Linked DNA regions of Homo sapiens: all the other regions are linked to region 3. The links are contacts of gene promoters, found by promoter capture Hi-C in human tissues and cell types (Jung and others, 2019). All regions are on one chromosome and are shown on one strand. The core of a region is centred on a gene start or on the middle of the fragment in contact, and the rest is flanking DNA. Distances in the headings are between cores, read along the strand shown.

Region 1 (4,567 bases), core at 1,178-3,677, 570 kb after region 3:
AAGAATCCTTTTTTCTTCTCTACCAAGAAGTAACCACTATCAAGAATTTGCTTTGAATTACTTCCACCCACATTACATATTTAAGCTTTTACAAATACAAAATATTGTTTTATAGTTTTAAAAATTTACAAAAATGATATACAGTACACTTTTTTTAGTAAAGAAAATGAATATGCTTTGAAATTATAGTCATTCATTACTTATTTTTTTTGAACATTAAAAGGCAGTAATTCACAAACACAATGGTTGGTAGAAATCTGAGAAACAAAAATACGTGAAAAAATGTTCTCCTTGAACCACTACAATGATAGAGCAGCTAGAATCATCCTTTTTAAAAATATTACTCTTCTAATTAAAATTCTGTGTTTTTTTAATTTTACATAGAATAAAGATTAAAGTCCTTACAGTGACCTAGGATGCTCTTTGTCATCTTTCCTCTTCTTTTTACCTCTCTCACTTCAACTTCTACTATTTTTATTCTTCCTTACTCCAACAATAAATAATGGAAGCTTGCGCATAAATTGTCTAGCCCCCTACCATTGAAATGGGCAGTTCTGGGAGGCATTCTGTACATATCTTAAAATCTGGTGGAACCACATCCACATTGTTCACAGCAGTGACCTCAGTGATCTGTCTTTTAAAATAATCTTTGCTTCCCTCCCTAGCTCACTCTACCTGCTCCATCATTCACGCTTCCTTGAATTCCCTCCCATATAAATCTAATTTTGTTGTACAAGGTATCTATCTTGTCTTTGTCAATTTCATAGGTGAGACTATTGCAGATTCTATAAACAAGCCAGGAACAGGAATATATAATTAAGACTCACCAGACAATAAGGAGAGGCTATTTCTATTTCATGGAGTGACTTAGTAAGATATGAGAGCTCAGGGAACTTGGAATTACCTGAATCCTCCCAAAGCCCTCACTGAAATTTTTCATCTGACACCCTCCTACTCAATCCCTGAATTTGAATGCATCCTTCACTCTTTTTTTTCTCTAGCATCCCCTGTCAGATCTGCGTTAAAAACATATGCAGAATCTGACCATTTCTCATTGTCTTTATGGCAGACACCCTCATCAAAAACAAACAAACATAATTATCTCGCCCTTGGAATATTGCAATATAATCCTATCTATTTTTTTTAAAACCATGTCTCTATATAGACTGTGTTTTACATGACAGCAAGAATGACCAAACATAATTCAGATAATTTCAAACATCATTCTTACTCTTAACGATCTACAAAGTTTTTCCATCTTCATTAAAAATCAAATCCTTTACAGTCATTCCCCCTTTTACTTCACCTACATAATACTGATCCTGCTATCCCTCCAGCTTATTTTTTTATGCCTTACCTTCTGCTTACTAGGCTATAGATACACATAATATGCCAGACATATTTCCTTCTCAGCAACATTGTGCTCACAGTTTCCTCTATATAGAATGTTCTTCCCTCAATTTGCTGTGTGGCTTCATCCCTAACTCCCTTCAGCTTTCTGCTCCATCTTATCAAAGGGACATGAAAATGTTCTGCTCAGATTTTCTGCGCTGGGAAGTGTAATTGATGATCCCTACTGGTTCCATTACCTTATTTGGGTCAAGGTTATGTTTCCTGTGGACTGCTCTGAGGCAATGACTGATGATGGTGGGGGTTGAAAGGCTGGTCCACTCCTGAAGAAGAAAAAAACTCCTTAAACAGGTGACTTTGGCTCAGGGACTTCCTGTCTGCCTGTATGAAAATTTTAAAGAATTGCATTGCAGTGTAAGATTCTACCTGTTCAATTTTCTAACTTGGCCCTGTCCTTCATAGGTGGTCTCAAAGCTCTCTCCACCTTCTCGGACTGTGCCTCTTTATCCTTCACAGGTATTTCCCCCAATAAGTCCCTTACTCATGTAATCCCAACTTGGTGTGTGCTTTCGGAGGGAGGTGTGGGCATTCTCCAGACATCTTCAGTAAAACATTACCCCATCATTATCCAGTTTATTTAGCCTCGCTTCAGTTTTCTTTTCCTATCAGCAGAGATGTTAATTTTCGATTTATCCCTACCCCCTGCCTATAGAATGCAATATCTTTGAAGACAGAGGATTTATCTATTTTTTTATTTCTATAGCATAATATTTGTACTAGTGGCTTTCAAGTAGTTGGCTATAAATATCCACAGAATGAATAAGCACATGATAAAAGAGATCTAAAACAGCTGCAGATTCTGCCTATGTTGCAATACAATAATGGCAACGTCAGGTTCCATGTTGCTAAACAGTCCTGTTGCTAAATAATAGAAAAATAATTCTAATAATATCATAAAAACCTTTAGCTATCTGATAATGGCTGAGGTAATAACTTAAAACTTTGGACTGTTAAATTATTTTTAAACTCTCCTACACAGCTAGAATAGCCTACCCATTCTTCCCCAAACCCCCAGCATTTTTGATATCTATTAAAATGGTGTAAATAGTAATCAGCAACTCCGTCAAAATTGATTTTAATTTGCACTTCATTCCAAGTGACCACAGAGATGTCAATATTTCTTCAGTCTGTGCCACGGAATGCCAACATCCTTTTCTAATGCTAATGAATTCTTTACTGACTTCAAATTCCATCAGATAAATTGACCAATTTCAAGTACTCCCCTGACCCTCAACATTTTTTTTTTTTTTCTTAAAGTGCTAGATGCCTGAAACCACTGCTGAAGTAAATTACTATAGTGGTCATTCTTCCCACTATAAGTCAATAGACTCCACTCTCACAAGTTTTTATTCATTTATTTTGAGACAGAGTCTCATTCTGTCGCCCAGGCTGGAGTGCAGTGGCAGGATCTTGGCTCACTGCAAACTCCGCCACCCGGGTTCAATAGATTCTTCTACCTCAGTCTCCTGAGTAGCTTGGATTAAAGGAGTGAGCCACCACGCCCAGCTAATTTTTGTATTTTTAGTAGAGACGGGGTTTTGTCATGTTGGCCAGACTGGTCTCTAACTCCTGACCTCAAGTGATCCGCCCTCCTCGGCCTCCCAAAGTGCTAGATTGCAGGCGTGAGCCATCGCGCCCGTCACATGCTCACAAGTTTAAACAGGAAGGATTTATTAAGATATTAATAAGCTTCCAGGAACAACTCTCAGACAACATCACAGAACTAGGTGGTTAAGCAACTAATACTGTGGATCCCACTGCTTCAGTCACAATTAGGAAAGAAACACCATCATTGCTAACCTCATACATTCACTGCTTGGTTCCTGCATGCGCCAGCAATTTGGGTTCCCTATTCCTGCTGGTTTTCTGACATGGCTTACCTATGAGTCAGAGTTTCATGCAGGTGCACGAAATTGGCAGAACCTAAATGAGATCTCTGTAAGCTAGTGGAAAAGGTAGTTGGGAATATTTTCTCAACATTTCTCAAAATATTTTCCACTAGAAAATATTTTCAATTTGGGAAAATGAGATTCACAATTAGGGAGTTACTGAAATATACAAACGATCCTTGATAGTTTTTGGACAGCTGTTAATGATAGATTTATGCTAAAATTAATATCTAATATATAATGGTATAATAGCACTTATAAAGAGCTTACTATGTGCAAGCTTGTTTTATGTACTCTACATCTAGCAATTCATTTTATCATTATATCTCTCCTGTGTAATTGATGTCATTATTTATCCTATATTACAGATGAAACTTAAGCATGGAGATGTTAAGGAATTTGTCCAAGGTCACAGTGATTGCATGGGGCAGAGCTGAGATTCAGATGCAGGTAGTGGCTCTGAAAGTCCGGACTCTCACTTTTCACCAATATATAATATGTGTACATTAACAACATTAGCAAAACAATTTGGAATAGGCAAGAGAAATAAAAAGAAATTGAGTAGAATATATGAATAAAAAAGTTACAGAAAATAAAACTATGATGGCTAATAAAAATGAAGTATTATTATCATGGAAGGAACTATGATATAACCAATTAATATTTCTTTGGGCCCAACACCCTCACATATTATCAACATAAATCCTATTAATATTAAAGAAACTGCCTTAGACATAAATTTCTCAAAAGTTCATTCACTGATTCTTTAAATACATATTTCATATTCACTTCAAGTAGTATGGACTACTGTCCCAATAGTTACAGCAGCACTTAACTGTAATTTATTTTATTTTATTTTATTTTATATTTTTAGTGTGTTAACATCAGAACAGGTGCCCTGTGGGACATATCCTCAATGGTGCACACTCAGCCATTCAATAAAAATTGTTAAATAAAATACTTGTTAAATGTAATCAAAATGTCTGCTATTGAATCTTCAAGAATTATTAAAAGATTCTGAGCACTCTCTCCCCTTAGAAATTTCTCATATATGATTTAAAAATAAGTAAACTAACATTATTTCTTCTCTACAGTAGAACATGTTCTAATTGCCTTACTATAGTTTTCCTCCTGTAACATATATTGGCATTTTATTAAACCAATAGAGGGTAAAATTCTTTCAAAGAGATAAAAAAAAAAATCTACAAATTGTAATGATCCTTAATCAAAGCAGGAGATAATGAAATTTTGTTAGACAGAAATTTATT
Region 2 (4,164 bases), core at 231-2,730, 670 kb after region 3:
GTCATTTTTAATTGATGATCAAGGCTCTTCCTGACTCTTCGTCAGTAACAGACATAATAAGGGTTAGAGAAGTGAAGGATTTTTATGTGTGTGTGAAGGTGAGAGATGATAGATTACAAGAGGTATAAAAATGACATTAAAACGTTACAGTAAGCTAATTAATTGTTGAAGAAAGAAAAAGTATTTTAAATACATGTAGTGGAGCCTAAGTACACAGTGTTTATAAAGTCTACAGCTATATACAATAATGTTCTAGGCCTTCACATTCACTCACCACTCATTCATTGACTCAACCGGTGTAACTTCCCGTCCTGCAAGCTGCATTTGTGGTTAAGTGTCCTATACAAATGTACCATTTTTTAACCATTTTAAAAATATGTTGATATGTTAACAGAAAATAATAAGATGGCCCAACTTCAGAAATTTACATAACCTTTAAAGTTACTCTTTAGAGATTCTCTTTGTCATGGATTTGAGCCTGTCCCAGTATAACACAAAATGTGGAACTGACTAAATATCCACTACCTTTTTTTAATTAATTTTTTTTTTTTTTAGTGTCAAGGGTACATGTACAGATTGGTTCTACAGTTAAATAGCATGATGTGGGGAGTTGGCGTCCATACTATTTCATCACCCAGATAATAAGCATAGTATCTGATAGGTAGATATATATATATATTTTGAGACTGAGTCTTGCTCTTGTTGCCCAGGCTGGAGTGCAATGGTGCCATCTCGGCTCACCGCAACTTCTGCCTCCCAGGTTCAAGCGATTCTTCTGCCTCAGCCTCCAGAGTAGCGGGGATCATAGGCATGCACCACCACACCTGGGTAATTTTGTATTTTTAGTAGAGACGGGGTTTCTCCGTGTTGGTCAGGCTAGTCTCAAGATAGGTAGATTTTTTTATCCTCACCCTCCTACCCATCCTCCATCCTAAAGTAGGCCCTGGTGTCTATCGTTCCTTTCTTTGTGTCTATATGTACTCTGTGTTTAATTTATGCTTATAAGTGAGAACAGATGGTGTTGGGTTTTCTGTTCCTGAATTAGTTCACTGAGGATAATGGTCTTCAGCTTCATCCATGTTGTTGCAAAAGACATTATCTTATTCTTTATTTTGGCTGCATAGTATTCCATGGTGTATATGTACCACATTTTCTCTATCCAGTCTACCACTGATGGGCATTTAGGTTGATTGCATGTCTCTGCTATTGCGAATAGTGCTGTGATTAACTTATGAATCCATGTGTCCTTATGGTTGAACAATCTATATTCCTTTGGATTGCTAATGGGATTGCTGGGTCAAGTGTGTGTAGGTTTGGGGTTCTCCTTTGAATCAGTTATTGCACTTCACTGTTTCCTCACAATTATGTATCAGGAACACTGGCAAGAATTTGTAAACAGATCCAAAACTCATCCTTGAGTATTAAGAGTGAGAAGATTATCTCTCCATGGAACAATTCAGTTTCATGTCTATAGACAAGAATTATTTTGCATTTCTATTAATTATCTACCACTTAACAGAGTTGCAAAGAAGCTTATAGAATCAAAATAATGTAATGTGAAATGTGCCATAAATAATGCATAGTTTTCATTGAAGCACAGATCTTTTCCACATGTCATGTATCTATTAGTTCACTAGACCTAATTTGTAATATTTATGGAAAATATAGTCAGAGTAATAGTAGAACCAATAGTAGTTATATCAGTAAAGAACTTACCATCAAATAATAACTCTTTTAAAGGTTAAAAATATGTCTTTCATTCAAATATAAAGTAAGCATATGTCAATGATTTTTAATTTCTTTATGATATTAAATATATATTATTTTTTCAAGTACTATATCATTTATAATTTATATCAGTTTTTTGACTCTCTTCTATGTTGCATTGATCAATTTGTCAGTGTATTATAATATAAATTTTTATTACTATAAAAATAATATTTTGGCATATAGTAAAAAATAACCACATAACTAATAATGTTTACTTATTCCTTTCAATTCTTGTATGATATGTTAACAGAATAAGTTACATAGTTTTAATTTGCTTATAGAATTTAAAGGATTTTTTTTTTCTGATTCATGGGGTTACTTTCAGTAGCTTAGTATGGGTAGAGAAGTCTAACATTTTTTTATTTACCCAAATTGGTTTGACCTATTTTTCAAATTGGAATTTCTATTTCTTGTTAAAAATAGAAATAGAAAAATGCTGCAGATATTTCAATAGTGTTTCAAAGCCTGGGAGGCAGAGCTAGAGGATTTATCAAGCTCAGCTCACCTAATACACACACCCAGCTTCCTACCATCACTTCCACCCTGAGCCTAAGGGTCTGTCCATCTGTTTCTTTCATGAAATCCAGGGGAAATTGTTATTTTCTCAAGAGCTTAGAGATTTAGTGTGTGCAGGTGTGTGTGTGTGTGTGTGTGTGTGTGGTTCCCTTTTCTATATGGACAAAGTTTATTATTATTTTTTTACATTTCTCTCAGCTCATGCCCACAAAGAAAGCTTAAATACTAAAGACAAAGGATCATAGCAAGTCCTGAAGGTTTAAGAATCCAAAGTAAAAATTTACGGTTATATCTGTAGTTTGTGTTCAATGAGAAAATAAGTAAAAATTAAAATAAGTCCTTCATGCTATTTAGAGTTTTCTAGTAAGAAATACACACTAACTTACTGAATATTTTATTTAAATTTTTATTCTGTAATTTCATTCACTTTAAAAAGGTAAAAGACAGTACTTATTGATGAGAAGAAAATAAGGAATTTAGTTAAGCCAGAACATAAGATATATATTTACACATTTCTTATTATTCGAGAGAGCATGGAGTTAAAAATTTTAAGATCAAAGTTAGTGTTTAACAAAGCTCACTGCAATTTTTTTCTGATCTTCTTATGTTATACAAAGTCAAAATTAATGACTCATAATAAACAAACTATTTTGTGTACTTATTCTTCATCATAATGGTTTTTACTTCTATGCTTGCCTAGTATTGGTAAATATCTGCATAATCCATTTGAGAGGAAATAAAATATTTCTAGATTGCCCATTTTTTAAAGTGAAAAATTTTGCAAAGTTATCAAATGGAGAAATCACTAAAGAGTAAATACTTAACAAAAATCACATTAAGAATTTTAAGCACAAGATATTAGTCTTAGCGTTTTCATATCACCCTATTGATTCCTCAATGCAAAGCCTAACTCACTTTAGGGGTATCCTAAATAAAAAAATATATTATGAATCAATATTTATTTTTATGGAATAATTGTCACTATGTAGCTGAACATTCAATTTAAGATATAAAGAATAAATATTTAAGTTCGTATATTTATTAGTTTTCTATTGCTGCAGTAACAAAGTACCACAAAACTAGCAAAGTAGAACAAATGTATTGACTTACAGTTTTGTAAGTAAGAATTCTAGAAGGGTGCAGCTGGTTTTTCAACTCCAGGTCTGACAAGGTCAAAATCAAGGTGTCCTTTGGCCTGGGCTCTTATCTGGAGTCCCTGAGGGAAGATTTGATGTTTAATTCTTTTCTCTTACCAGTCTGAATGTTCCAAGGAGGTCATGTCAACAGTTAAAGTCTGCCATTTTGCCTCTTAGTGCGCATGTGTGAGCCCTCTCATCCAACTCCTGAGATCTTATCAGGAAGCTGCTGATCACCAGCTTCAGGTGTTTCTATGTATTGGGAGACGGTCTTTCCCTGGCACCAGTTGCAACCAATGATTACTTTAGAGAGACAGTTTAACAACTGCCTGACCATCACCTGATGGTCAGGTGATGGTCAGGGAGAAGTATTGTTGGCAGAATTCAATTCCCTGTAGTTGTAATGCTGAGGTTCCCCATTTCCTTGCTGCCTGCCTTTCTGGGACTTCTCTTAGCTCTTTAAGGCCACCTGCTTTCCTCATCATATTGCCTCCTGCCTTGTTGAGCCAGCAAAGGGACAAGTGCATTTTATACTTCTAAACTCTCACTCCTCCTATTGCATCTCTTCTGGCTCCAGCTGAAGAGAGTTCTCTTTTTTTAAGGATTCCTGTAATAATGTTACAGTAGGTAGCTAGTCAGACATAAGCAGAGTGGAGAGGGACCCCACTCACTGGGAATGTCAGATGACCATCAGGTGATGGTCAGGCAGTTGTTAAACTGTCTCTCTAAAGTAATCATTGGT
Region 3 (4,135 bases), core at 712-3,211:
TACTGTCAGAACTGTTAAGCAATTAGAAATTCAAGGCATTCATTTAGTTGAGAATAGTGTTTTTATCCTTAATTCAATTTCCCTGATTTTATAGTGTATATAAATCACAAAGTATTTACATATAGTTTAAAAAAATATATTTTGCATCTTAACAAATGCACTTTTAAGGCTCTAATCACCAAAAAGCAGCTGAAACTCAATCAGGTTTCAAGGAAGTCATATAATCAGAGTCCCAAGATTAAAAGAAAAAAAATTGTAATTTCTTTACAGTTTTAAAATTTTGAAATGACAGGTAGACAATTACATATTTACATTTTAGCTTATAATAACTTCTTTAGCAGAATATATGGTTTAGAAAAAGAATCTCCAATGCCTGATTATCTCTTCTACTATATATTTTTTAACAAACTTTTCAGTTACACCAAAAATTAATATTTGCCTCAATGTTCAGAAATAATGCTTTTCTCAAGAAAATTAATTTAAAAAGAGGGTATATATAACTCCACCAAACTAAACTATAACAAATATCTCCAGAAAGAGATAAAAGTTTTATTTTATCTAAAACATTTTAGTAATGTAAGAATTCTTCATTTTAAAGACTATGAAGAAAATTAACTCATGTGACAAGCTCAAAATTAACATTATTTACACAAAGAAACAAATCTTCTGTTTTACCATCAAGATGATAAAGAAAAATGATAACAAAATTAGAAATGGTAGATACTGTGTTAACCAGAGAAAGAAAAAAAAGAGCTTATCTTAGGCAAGCCTCTTTATATGTTCAGTACTATTTTAAAAAGGAGCCTCCTTCAAACTTATATTTGAAATCTCCATCTTAAATATAATATTGATAGGAAGGTATGGATGAAGAAAAAGGGAAAAAAATTCCCTTCAGCTGAATATCGGATATTCTAGAGTTTCTCTGCCATATCATCCTGCTCTCTGGTGGTGAACAGCATTGCTCAGTAGTTGATAACATGAAATTTTCTAAGGGCAAAAAAAAAAAACAAAAAAAAAGTGTGTGTCCCAGATCAGTTGCACACATCTCAATATTTGATTTGTATTTTAATTTAATACAAATGTATTAAGAATGTAGCTGTTTGCATTGTCTAGAAGGGTTTTCTTCTAAACTCTTCCAGATTACATGTTGCTATATTTCAATATGTTTATAAAGAATATAGATACTAATACATTTTCGACATTAAATAACTCTGATGCTTAAACAGTATCCAGCTATTAGAAAAACTATTTGAAAAAGGATCTGAGTAAACCCCTTAAAGATGTAACTTTGCTTTTACCTGCCCCCACAAAATGGATATATTAAATAGAAGATATATCTGTTTTCTTTAAATTTAAAGTTTCTGTATTTGATACCTAGATTGATTCTTTCCATTTCCATTTAATTTTATTAATTGTATAGTTTTAAATAATGTCTATAAACTGCATCAAATAGAAAGCCTTTTGAGGATCATTACTGTGTAGATAGGCAGGTAGTTTAAAGTCTCTGATATTCCTTACAAAATTCTGTCAAGGCAACAGACATGTGTTCTGTTAAACAGATCTACTTCAGAATCATTATAAGTTGGTGAATATCTTAAACAATTACAAGAGGTCATTTCTTTAGTACCATAATCTTATGAAAGGGAAGCTTTAAAATCATCCCTGAATGAGACGGTCCTTTGTTTCACTTAATTTAATCAAAATACTCTATATTTCTTCTTCAAGAATAAAATGAAGCACTTGTTCAATCTTGAAATTTTTAGATTATTTGAAAGCAAAGTTGTTATCTCTTAAAAGCCCCTACATTTATGAGTGAGGCATTAATGCACAGTATAAATAAATAAATACACTTACCTGGAATTAAAGTTCAGAGCTGAAAATGCTTGAGAAAGTTGCAATAGATGGAAAAGAAACGGAAACAGTACCACTCGTTACCATCGGCTCAGGCTTTTTGACTTTACAAGTGGTAGCAACACCAGTCCTGGCCCAGTACTCTCATGTTATGTAACATCTTATTAATATTAGCCATCAAACTGCTACCAAGCTGGTGAGGCACTAGAGGGCAAGAGTGTCACATGCAAGACCCGTCGCCAAGGGACCGGCTTTGGTACCACTTCGGGGGAAGACAGATGCTAACTAAGCTGATGAATAACAGGATGCCCGAATACAACAGCAAACTTGTAACGTTCCTCAAAGAATATTTTACATGTCAATTTTCTGACTAGCGGAAGAGTTAACAGGTTAATAAATATGAGCAAGCAAATAACCACACCATGAAAAACTTTTAGGATTATATTTACAAACCCACAGTCACTCAAGAGGCTGTTTGTTTTTTTCTTTCCATTGTCTAAATAAACTTATTTAAAACAGGAGAAAAAAGCTGGTTAAATAAAACGAGTGTCGGTTTCAGGACTCCCTCATTCCAAGCCGCGAGAAACTTGTCTGGTCGAGATGCCGCCTCTGGAGTCCGCATTCCAAGGCGCCCGGATCGGGTTTCTGGGCGAGGAGACCGGCCCCGTCCTCCATGGAGATTACCTGGGGCTGCAGCCGTCCGCGGGCTCCTCCTTCCCTCGGGTCTTCGGCCTCAGCCGCTCCCCAGGGCCCCTCGTCCGGGTGGCGCTTGGGTGCTACGCGGTGCCCGGGGTCCGGCGGGGGCGACAAGCGGGCGACCTCTCCCCTCCGCGCCCGGGATCTGCGCGGACACAGCTGGTGGCGACTTCGGCCGCTCAGGCTGCGGCTGCGGGGCGAGCGCAGCGGGTGCGCCGGGGACTCCTGCGCTGGAGAACCACGGCCCTGGGACCCGCCCGGCCGCGCCTCCGCCGCCCTCGCCACCGCCTCCCGGGCGGGAGCCGCCGCCTCCCAGCTCCCGGCCCGCGCGCGCCCGCCCCGGGGAAGGGGAGGGAGCGGGAGCTGAGGACGGGAGCCGCCTCCATCGACCGGGCTCCCGCCCGGACCGGCCCTGAGGATCTGGCTGCCCGGGCCTCGACAAGGAGACCCCGGGGGTTCCGCCCCGGCCTGCCAGTTCCGACCGCCCCTCCCGGCGGGTTGGCGGCGGCCGCCAAGGATGAAACGTCTTGTGCGGCCAGGGAAAGGGGTGCGAGTCCCCGAGGCGACGCTGGAAGGGTGGGGCGCACCCGCGCGGTCCCTTCCTGTGGTGCTCCTGCCGTTGGCACTGGACCAGGGCGGCTGCGAGGCTGCAAGAGTTTCCTCTGTTCGCCAGTTTTTTTCAAATGCCATGTGTTTCAGCTCCTGAAGACAAGTGGAAGGCCAGCAACTGAAGAGATATTTTGGATTCAAGGTGTGAGGTTACCCTCTCCAGAACTATAGTTTGATTAGAAGTGTGAATCGAATGATATATATTTTTAAAAATTTCATTTGGTTCCACTAACATGTGAATTGTATTAAGTGGGGTCTACTAATGATACTTTGTATTGGCCATTTGTGGTTTTGCTTCCCAGCACTCACTCTTGTTGAAACAGTACTCCTGTTCATTTTGGAAGATCCAACCACTTGATCTCACCCCGCAGCCCATTTGCTTTAGGTGATGTCAGCCGCTGCTGACTCACTGGTAGACCCACAGCTCAGGTCTGGCCAGTGATGGCTTTCTGTCCTGGTAGCATGGGTAGGTATGTAACCCAGGTCTGGCCAATCAGAGAGAAAAACAGAAAAAAACCACCATTCTGGGACTTTTTTTTTTCCTTCCTCTCTTAAGAAAGTGGACTCTCTTCTACTGGACTTTGCATAATGAAGATGTGAGCTTAGAGCTTGAAGTCTGAAAATAAAGCTGATACTCAGGAAGGCAGAACTGAGAGTTGGAGAAAAGTGAAACCCAGATGGAGATTTTCGAGCTTGGAATCGAGCTGTAGCTGAAATAAGTTCTATCTCTGGATATTTTCATTCATAAACAAATACATTCACTTTTTTTTTTGATTCGGAGTCGCGCTCTGTCGCCCAGGCTGGAGTGCAGTGGCGTGATCTCAGCTCACTGCAAGCTACGTCTCCCGGGTTCCCACCATTCTCCTGCCTCAGCCTCCCGAGTAGCTGGGACTATAGGAGCCCGCCACCAGGCCCGGATAATTTTTTGTATTTTGGTAGAGACGGGGTTTCACCGTGTAAGCCAGGATGGTCTCGATTT
Region 4 (4,767 bases), core at 1,038-3,537, 870 kb after region 3:
ATATAGTGAAACAGGAAAGGTTTCCTTGTTCCCCTTGCAGGGTGTATGATGGGGTGTGGCTCGCTTCTTCAGTGCTCCACTGCTCAAACCTCTAGGGGAGCATATAGACGGGGAGGCTGTGGGGCTCCAACCCCACAGCTGTGTCTAGGGGTGAATGTTTACGGCTGAAGCCCTCCAAGGGGCGTGTGTTACAGAGTGCTCTTTCAGTTTAGCCATCCATAGGTGGCTTGTGTTAGTCAGCTCAGTTAGACCTCTGCCTTGTCTCAAGGACAGAGGGCTTTCTGTATCCTGGGGTTCTTGCCTTGGTGTACGGGAAAGAATCGGATCACACGTGGGCTTGGAGAATGAGTGCAAAGTTTTATTGAGTGGAAGTAGCTCTCAGCAGATGGGGAGCCAGAAGGGGAATAGTTTCCCCGTTGTCCGTGGCTGGGGCTCTCCTTCAACTGTCCCGGCCAAACTCTGCCTTGTTCTGCTGGTTGATGGCCTGCAGGCCTGCTGGCGTCTGTCATGTGCTCTTCCACCGGCATGCTCTCCTCAACGTCCTCTTGACGTCCAGCCACTTGTGTCTTCTGCCAATGTGTTCTGCTCCACTTCCAGTCACTTGTTTGTCTGCCTCCTAGGGTCTGGGGGTTTGCATAGGCACAGGTTGGGGGTGTGGCAGGCCAGGGTGGTCTTGGGAAATGCAACATTTGGGCGCAAAGGCAGGAGTGCCTGTCTTCATCTAGGTCAGTGGGCACAGGTCTGGGGGGTGGAGCCCTCGCCAGGGACCCGCCCTTCTACTCCCAGCACTTGCCTGCCCCACTTTTGTATCAATAGCAGTTTCCTGAGTTCTGACAGTTTCTAGTGAATTTTTCTACTTGAGAAGTCAATGAGGAGCCCCAGATTTGTAGTGAGTTCATCAGAGGCTTGGGAACCCCTGAGCTTGCAGCTGGTATCTGAAGTAAAAATAGTCTTGTTGGGGACTGTACCCTTAACCTGCAGAGTCCCCTGGTAGTTAGTGTCAGAAGTCACTGCAGCTACCATGCCATTCTCTGTATACTCTTTTATACGCTGTAATCTGTGGTCAGGCACAAGTTTCTAGACATACAACATTATTTCCATTGCCAAATCCAAGGCATTTAGTTCAATAGTGTATCATCTTGTATTTGATTACTATGACTGCTAATTTGGATAACGTTCTTAATAGGCAATAGAGTGAGTCAAGTAAAGCTTCATGTTTACACAGCATTAAGTACTCTTGTCTTTTCCAGTTTAGTAAACTGCCCAAAATCTAGCAGTTACTAAACACATTCTAATTGACTAAATACTAGAGTCAGAATCAGTTAGATATTTTTGAAGCTGAATTTACACTGCTACATCATGAAGGTGTCATTTAATTCACTTGATCAGGCTCAATTAAAGATCTGAAAGACATAGTGAAACTAAGACCCTAAAAGACATTTGTAGTATCATTTTTTAAAATAAAATTTCTCAGTGAAATGGAGAGATAAATTAAGCACTGGATAATAGAAATGTTAAAAAACAGAACTAACCTTAGTTTTTGAACAAAAGAAAAACTCGATTATGCATTATATTGTCTTTTGAATATAGGCAAAGTATACTTTCAGATAACTGACAATACAGTTAATAATAATAGTTACCATAAATACAACTTTAAAAAATTTTCTTGCCTGTCTTTAAAATTTTTCTAGTCCTTTTTCTGCTTGCTTCATTTATTATTGCTAGTCATTTGCTTTAATTTCATTCTAACAAGCATACTATATCTACTTCTTGAACCTCCTCTTCACATCTTTTGTTTCTAGTTATTTATTCAGGGGCAAGATCTGTTCTGGAGGGTGGGGAAGATTGTCACTAACTTTGATTTTTGCCTTAGTTTGACTGAGAGCAGAGGGGATAGTTGTGTTGTCACTGTGGTCATTAAGAAATAAATAAGACAACATATAAGAATGTCCTCATATGTAAGGTATTAATACAATGTAAAAGTATTGCCCAAACATTCTCCTGAGGTAAAATAATAATAATAATAATAATAATAATAATAAGAGGTCGGGCGCAGTGGCTCACACCTGTAATCCCAGCACTTTGGGAGGCTGAGGCAGGCAGATCACGAGGTCAGAAGATCGAGACCATCCTGGCTAACACGAGGACACTCCGTCTCTACTAAAAATACAAAAAAATAGCGGGGCATGGTGGTGGGCGCCTGTAGTCCCAGCTACTTGGGAGGCTGAGGCAGGAGAATGGCATGAACCCGGGAGGCAGAGCTTACAGTGAGCCGAGATTGCACCACTGCACTCCAGCCTGGGCGACAGAGTGAGACTCTGTCTCAAAACAAATAAATAAATAAAATAATAATAATAAATAAAGCCATTGTCTCACACACCTGCAAAAAAAAAAAAAAAAAAAAAAAAAAAAAGAAAGAAACACAAGGCTGGAGGTTCACAGAGTATTTATATTGGAAAATCTCATTTAAGTTAATATATAACATTAACATTCAAAATTCAATGCAATTTAATCAAACAACTGTAACTCCATGACAAAGAGAGTCATCTCTACTTCAGAAGCATTTAATTCAATATTAAGAATTAATACATCATCATATCTTCAAGACAAACCCATGTACCATTTCACAACAACTAATAAAAATTATAGGAAGAATCTCATCTCAGAATAATTGATTTCTATTTTTCATTCATTAACGAGATAAGACTCTCAGCTTTAGGTGTATTTCATTGAATTAACTTTGTGGAAATACATACTGCCTGATAAAAAGCAAAGACTATTTAAATGGAAAAAGATTACTTTATTAGAAGTATAGGAATCTCCTACATTGCCTAATAAAGGACATTAGACCCATAAGTAGGGTCTGGAATTGAATTAATGGAATCATAGGCAAATATAATCCTGCTGATTAATCTTGTATCCTCCACAGGCATTTCAGCGTTCCATTGGATGAATTCTTGTTATTTTTAAAATAGGTAGGCCTAGCACAGTGGCTCATGCCCGTAATCCCAGCACTTTGGGAGGCTGAGGCAGGCAGATCATGAGGTCAAGAGATCGAGACCATCCTGGCCATCATGGTGAAACCCCATCTCAACTAAAAATACAAAAAATTAGCTGGGTGTGGTAGTGCATGCCTGTAGTCCCAGCTACTCTGGAGACTGCGGCAGTAGAATCACTTGAACCCGGTAGGTGGAGGGTTCAGTGAGCCGAGATGGCGCCACTGTACTCCAGCCTGGCGACAGTGTGAGACTCCATCTGAAAAATAAATAATAATAATAGGTAAAGAAAAGGAGCTAATAGTCAAGCTTCTGCAAAGTGTAAACATCAAAATAAATGTACAATAAAAAGATGTTTTTTGCCTTCCTCAACTACATGGATATATATGCACTGTCTTACTAAATGCCAAGTACATTTTAATAGCAAAATATATGTATTTGCCATTTTCTTTATACTAGTGGAATAAGCATGCCACCTTAACATTGTCGAGGCTCTAAATAAATTTTATAATTTAAATAATACCTGAAGGTACCTTTACAAAGGTGAGGAGTTAATTATACTTGTCTATCTAGTTTTAACTAAAAAAATAAAAATACATTTACGCTCTTAGAGGGCTTGACTGCAGACATATCTTTAATATTTCATTGATAACTAATCTAAGTTAGAGAGATAATTAGTAAGGTAATAGAGAAACAAACCCTAAATGTTTGACTCAATGGTAAGCATCTATGCCAACTATAAATATAAAATCATTGATGAGTAAGCTAAGCATATATACTACAAAAAAATGTATGATAATAAGTCAATCACTTTGAACATTGTTTATCAAGAAAATATCAAAAATGTATATTTAAGTGTTCTAATGAAAAAAGTATTACTTTTAGGGAGTAACTTGATCATAGTAGTGTAACATATAAAAAGTCATGAATTTTGTATTGCTTATGGCTGTTTACAGTATATATGTTTTGCATCATATACTTTTATATTCTGAAAATATACTTTGAACACATGCCAGTAGATTACATTTAGCTAGTGAATGAACAGTGCTATTGATTGAAGAAATATTTATCATGTGATTTTTAAACTTCATCAACTGCATACATTTTAAACTCTAACTTAGTTTATGATTTTTCATAAACCAAAGGAGAGCCATCACTTTTCCCTACACTCCCATGCTGAATGACATTAAAATTGCTCTCTTATTTTTCAGCATTGTGACTATAATAATTAATGATTTATTTTTTTCCTGACAACTGCCAACTAGGAGAGTGAATGTTAAATGTTCTCACCACAATAACCATGAGGTAATGAACATTTTAATTAACTTGATTTAATGATTCCATTTTATGCATACATATACTTGAAAACATCATGTTGTACACAAAGCAATGTTATCAGCCAACAGAACATAAGTAAATAAACAAATTTGAAAACAAAGAAATTATTCTTCTGAAACACAGTGTAGTCCACATACATTACCATCAATCACATCACTGCAATGACAGTACAGTGAAAACCTTCATTTTAGCAAGTTAAATAATAAAACAAGGATTATTCAGAAAAGATGATCAGGTGCTAGTAGTCTCCTTTTAGAGAACTGAACTAATGAAGTTATAGGCAAATATAATTCTACTGATTAATTTTATGGTCTCCACAGCATTTCAGAGTTCTACTGGTTGAATTTTTGTTATTATTAAAATAGATAAAGAAAAGGAGCTAATATTCAAGCTTCTGCACAGTGTGAAAACCACCAAAATAAATGTACAATAA
Region 5 (4,471 bases), core at 790-3,289, 700 kb after region 3:
GCAGAAACCCTAAAAGCCAGAAGTGATTGGGGGCCAATATTCAAAATTCTTAAAGAAAAGAATTTCCAAGCCAGAATTTTATATCAAGCCAAACTAAGCTTCATAAACAAAGAAGAAATAAGATCCTTTTCAGACAAGCAAATGCTGAGGGAATTCATTACCACCAGACCTGCCTTACAAGAGCCCTGAAGACAGCACTCAACAAGGAAAGGAAAAACCATTACTAGCCACTATAAAGCCACATTGAAGTTACACAGACCAGTGACACTGTGAAACAACCGCATACTCAAGTCTGCAAAATAACTAGCTAGCATCATGATGACAAGATTAAATCCACATATAGCAATGCTAATCTTAAACGTAAATGGGCTAAATGTCCCAATTAAAAGACACAGAATGACAGGCTGGATAAAGAAGCAAGACCCATCAGTATGCTGTTTTCAAAAGTCCCATCTCACAGGCAAAGACACTCACAGGCTCAAAATAAAAGGATGGAGGACAATCTAGCAAACAAATGAAAAACAGAAAAAAAGCATGGGTTGGAATCCTAGTTTCTGACAAAACAGACTTTAAACCAGCAAACATTAAAAAAGACAAAGAAGGGCATTACATAATGGTAAAGGGTTCAATTCAACAAGGAGAGCTAATTATCCCAAATATATAGGCACATAATAAAAGAGTACCTATATTTATAAAGCAAGTTTTTAGAGATCTACAAAGAGACTTAGACTCCCACACAATAATAGTGGGAGACTTTAACATTCCACTGACAATATTAGACAGATCATTGAGATAGAAAATTAATAAAGATATTCAGGACCTGAACTCAGCTCTGGATCAAGAGAACCTGATGGATATCTACACAACTCTCCAAACAAAAATAACAGAATATACATTTTTCTCATCACCACATGGCACTCACTGTAAAATTGATCACATAATAAGAAGTAAAACACTCCTCAGAAACATGCGAAAGAAGTGAAATCATAAACAGTCTCTCAGATCAGAATGCAATCAAATTAGAACTCACCCAAAACCATTCCACTACAGGGAAATTGCACAACCTGCTTCTGAATGACTTTTGGGTAAACAATGAAATTAAGGCAGAAATCAAGAAGTTCTTTGAAACTAATGAGAACAAAGATACAATGTACTAGAATCCCCATAACACAGCTGAAGCAGTGCTAAGAGGAAAATTTATAGCACTGAATGCCCACATCAAAATGCCAGAACAATTTCAAGTTGAAAGCCTAACATCACAACTAAAAGAACTAGAAAAAAAAAGAAAAAAAAAAAAAAAAAAGCTAGCACAAGACAAGAAATACCTAAGATCAGAGCTGAACTGAAGAGGATAGAGATAGGAAAAAGGCCTTCAAAAATTCAAACGGTAAAGGAGCTGATTTTTGAAAAAAATAAAATAAAATAGTTAGACTGCTAGTTAGACTAATAAAGAAGAAAAGAGAGAAGACTCAAATAAACACAGTCAGAAAGAAAGGGCATATCACCCCACAGAAATACAAACAACCATCAGAGAATACTACAAACACCTCTATAAACTATACAATCTAAAATAAATGGATAAATTGCTGGACACATATACCCTACCAAGATTGAACCAGAAAGAAATTGAATCCCTGAATAGACCAATAATGAGTTCTGAAATTGAGGCACTAATAGCTTACCAACCAAAAGAAAAAAATAAGTCCTAGAGGAGGTACAAAGAAGAGCTGGTATCATTCATACCATAACTATTCCAAAAAGTTGAAAAGAAGGGACTCCTCCCTAACTCATTTTATGAGGCCTGCATCACTCTGATACAAAAACCTCCAGAGATACAACAAAAAAACAAACTTCAGGACAATATCCTTGATAAACATTGATGCAAAAATCCTTGACAAAATACTGGCAAACTGAATCCAGCAACACATCAAAAATCATATCCACCACAATCAAGTAGGCTTTATCCCCAGGATGCAAGGTCAGTTCAATATTTGCAAACCAATCAATGTGATTCATCATATATGCAAACCAATCAATGTGATTCATCACAAAAACAGAACTAAAGACAAAAACCATATGATTATCTCAATAGATGCAGAAAAGGCCTTCATTAAAATTCAACATCTCTTCATTTTAAAAACTCTGAATAAACTAGGTATTAAAGGAACATATATCAAAATAATAACAGTCATATATGACAAACCCACAGCCAATATCATACTGGCAGCATTTCCCTGAAAACTGGCAAAAGATGAGGATGCCCTCTCTCACAACTCCTATTCACCACAGTATTGGAAGCTCTAGCCAGGGAATTCAGGCAAGAGAAAGAAATAAAGTGTATTCAAATAGGAAGAGAGGTAGTCAAACTATCTTTGTTTGCAGATGACATGATTTTATATCTAGAAAACACCGTCATTTCAGCCCCAAAACTTCTTAAGCTGATAATCAACTTCAGTAAAATATCAGGATTCAAAATCAGTGTGCAAACATTGTTAGCATTCCTGTACACCAACAAGAGTCAAGTTGAGAGTCAAATCACAAATGAACTCCCAATCACAATCATCACAAACAGAATAAAACACATAGGAATACAGCTAACAAAGGATGTGAAATATCTCTACAAGGTAACTACAAAGCTCTGCTCAGAGGAGTCAGGGATGACAAAAGTAAACACAAAAAAGTTCACGTTCATGAATAGGAAGAATCAATATTGTGAAAATGGCCATACTGCCTGAAGTAATTTATAGATTCAGTGCTGTTCCTGTTAAACTACCATTGACATTCCTCATAGAATTAGAAAAAACTGTTTTATAATACCTATGAAAACAAAAAAAGAGCCCAAATAGCCAAGGCTATTCTAAGCAAAAAGAACGAAGCTGAAGGCATCATGCTATCTGAATTCAAACTATACTACAGGGCTACAGTAATCAAAACAGCATGATACTGGTACAAGAACAGACACACAGATCAATGGAACAGAATAGAGAACGCAGAAATAAGACTACACACTGACAACCATCTGATCTTTGACAAATCTGACAAAAACAAGCAATGGGGAAAAGATTCCCTGTTTAATAAATGGTACAGAAAGAACTGCCTAGCTATATGCAGAAAATTGAAACAGGACCCATTCCTTACAACTTATACAGAAATTAACTCAATATGGTTTAAAGACTTCAATGTAAAACCCAAAACTATAAAAACCCTATAAGAAAACAAAGGCAATTCTATTCAGGATATAGGCACAGGCAAAGATTTCATGACGAAGATGCCAAAAGCAATTGGAACAAAAGCAAAAATTGACAAATGGGATTTAATTAAACAAAAGAGTTTCTGCACAGCAAAAGAAACTATCAACAGAGGAAACAGACAATGTAAAGAGCGGAAGAAAATTTTTGCACTCTATCCACCTGATAAAGGTCTAATATCCAGCATCTACATGAAGCTTAAACAATTTACAAGAAAAAAACCACCAAACAACCACATTAAAAAGTGGGCAAAGGACATGAACAGACACTTCTCAAAAGAGGACATACATGTGGCCAGCAAATACATGAAGAAAAGCTCAACATCACTGATTATTAGTGAAATGCAAATCAAAACCATAATCAGATACCATCTAACACCAGTTAGAATGGCTATTACTAAAAAGTCAAAAAAAATAATAGCAGATGATGGTGAGGTTGCCGAGAAAAGGGAATACTTATGCACTATTGGTGGGAGTGTAAATTAGCTCAACCATTGTAGAAGACAGTGTGGCCATTCCTCAAAGACCTAGAGGCAGAAATACGATTCGACCCAGCAATCCCAATTACTGGATATATAACCAAAGGAATATAAATCTTTTTATTATAAAGATACATGCATGTGTATATTTATTGCAGCACTCTTCACAATTGCAAAGAGATGGAATCAACCTAAATGCCCATCAAATGATAGACTGGATAAAGGAAATGTGGTACATATACATACTATGCAGCCATAAAAAGGAACAAAATCATGTCCTTTGCAAGGTCATGGAAGCCATTATTATCAGCAAATTAATGCAGGAAAAGAAAACCAAATGCTGCATGCTCTCTCTTATAAGTGGGAGCTGAATTATGAGAACACATGCACACATGATGGGGGTGGAGAACACACACTGGGGCATTTTTTAAGGTGAAGGGTAGAACACTTTTTAGAAGGGAGAGCATAAGAAAGAATAGCTAATGGATGCTGGGCTTAATACCTGGGTGATGAGATGATCCGTGCAGCAAACCATCATGACACACATTTATCTATGTAACAACACTGCACATTCTGCACATGTACTCCTGAACCTAAAATAAAAGTTGGAAATTAAAAAAAGAGAGAGAATGATTCAGAGATAAAAAGCAGAAATGAAAATCACTTTTCAATTCAACCTGAGAGAATACTTTAGTACAGTATTAAGAATACCTTAATACATTTAAACATTTATTGCACAATTAAT

Evidence for each region. The method cuts DNA at HindIII sites, captures the fragments that hold promoters and counts their contacts. A contact is called where the count stands out against the background at its distance.
Region 1: a fragment that was not itself captured here is called in contact with the fragment with the promoter of NDST3 in region 3 in 2 of the 25 tissues and cell types used here (H1 embryonic stem cells and dorsolateral prefrontal cortex).
Region 2: a fragment that was not itself captured here is called in contact with the fragment with the promoter of NDST3 in region 3 in 2 of the 25 tissues and cell types used here (dorsolateral prefrontal cortex and mesendoderm cells).
Region 4: a contact is called between a fragment that was not itself captured here and the fragment with the promoter of NDST3 in region 3, in 1 of the 25 tissues and cell types used here (dorsolateral prefrontal cortex).
Region 5: a contact is called between a fragment that was not itself captured here and the fragment with the promoter of NDST3 in region 3, in 2 of the 25 tissues and cell types used here (mesendoderm cells and thymus).

The regions. Positions count from the first base shown.
Region 1 is chr4:117,465,256-117,469,822 of GRCh38, reverse strand. The region is part of intron 2 of LINC01378 (long intergenic non-protein coding RNA 1378); the gene reads right to left. Among named protein-coding and RNA genes, the nearest start is that of LINC01378, 39 kb to the right of the region's middle. The HindIII fragment of the contact is 4,260 bases long and covers 298-4,557 here.
Region 2 is chr4:117,360,739-117,364,902 of GRCh38, reverse strand. LINC02263 (long intergenic non-protein coding RNA 2263) reads right to left here. Exons shown (of 5, transcript NR_147153.1): 1 at 4,094-4,164; 2 at 3,397-3,493. Among named protein-coding and RNA genes, the nearest start is that of LINC02263, 2.2 kb to the right of the region's middle. The HindIII fragment of the contact is 6,739 bases long and covers 1-4,164 here.
Region 3 is chr4:118,032,312-118,036,446 of GRCh38, reverse strand. It overlaps NDST3 (N-deacetylase and N-sulfotransferase 3), which reads right to left and starts at 1,961. Exons shown (of 14, transcript NM_004784.3): 1 at 1,855-1,961. The HindIII fragment of the contact is 9,214 bases long and covers 1-4,135 here.
Region 4 is chr4:117,158,189-117,162,955 of GRCh38, reverse strand. No RefSeq gene overlaps it. Among named protein-coding and RNA genes, the nearest start is that of TRAM1L1, 75 kb to the right of the region's middle. The HindIII fragment of the contact is 3,457 bases long and covers 559-4,015 here.
Region 5 is chr4:117,336,927-117,341,397 of GRCh38, reverse strand. The region is part of intron 3 of LINC02262 (long intergenic non-protein coding RNA 2262); the gene reads left to right. Among named protein-coding and RNA genes, the nearest start is that of LINC02262, 21 kb to the left of the region's middle. The HindIII fragment of the contact is 4,499 bases long and covers 1-4,288 here.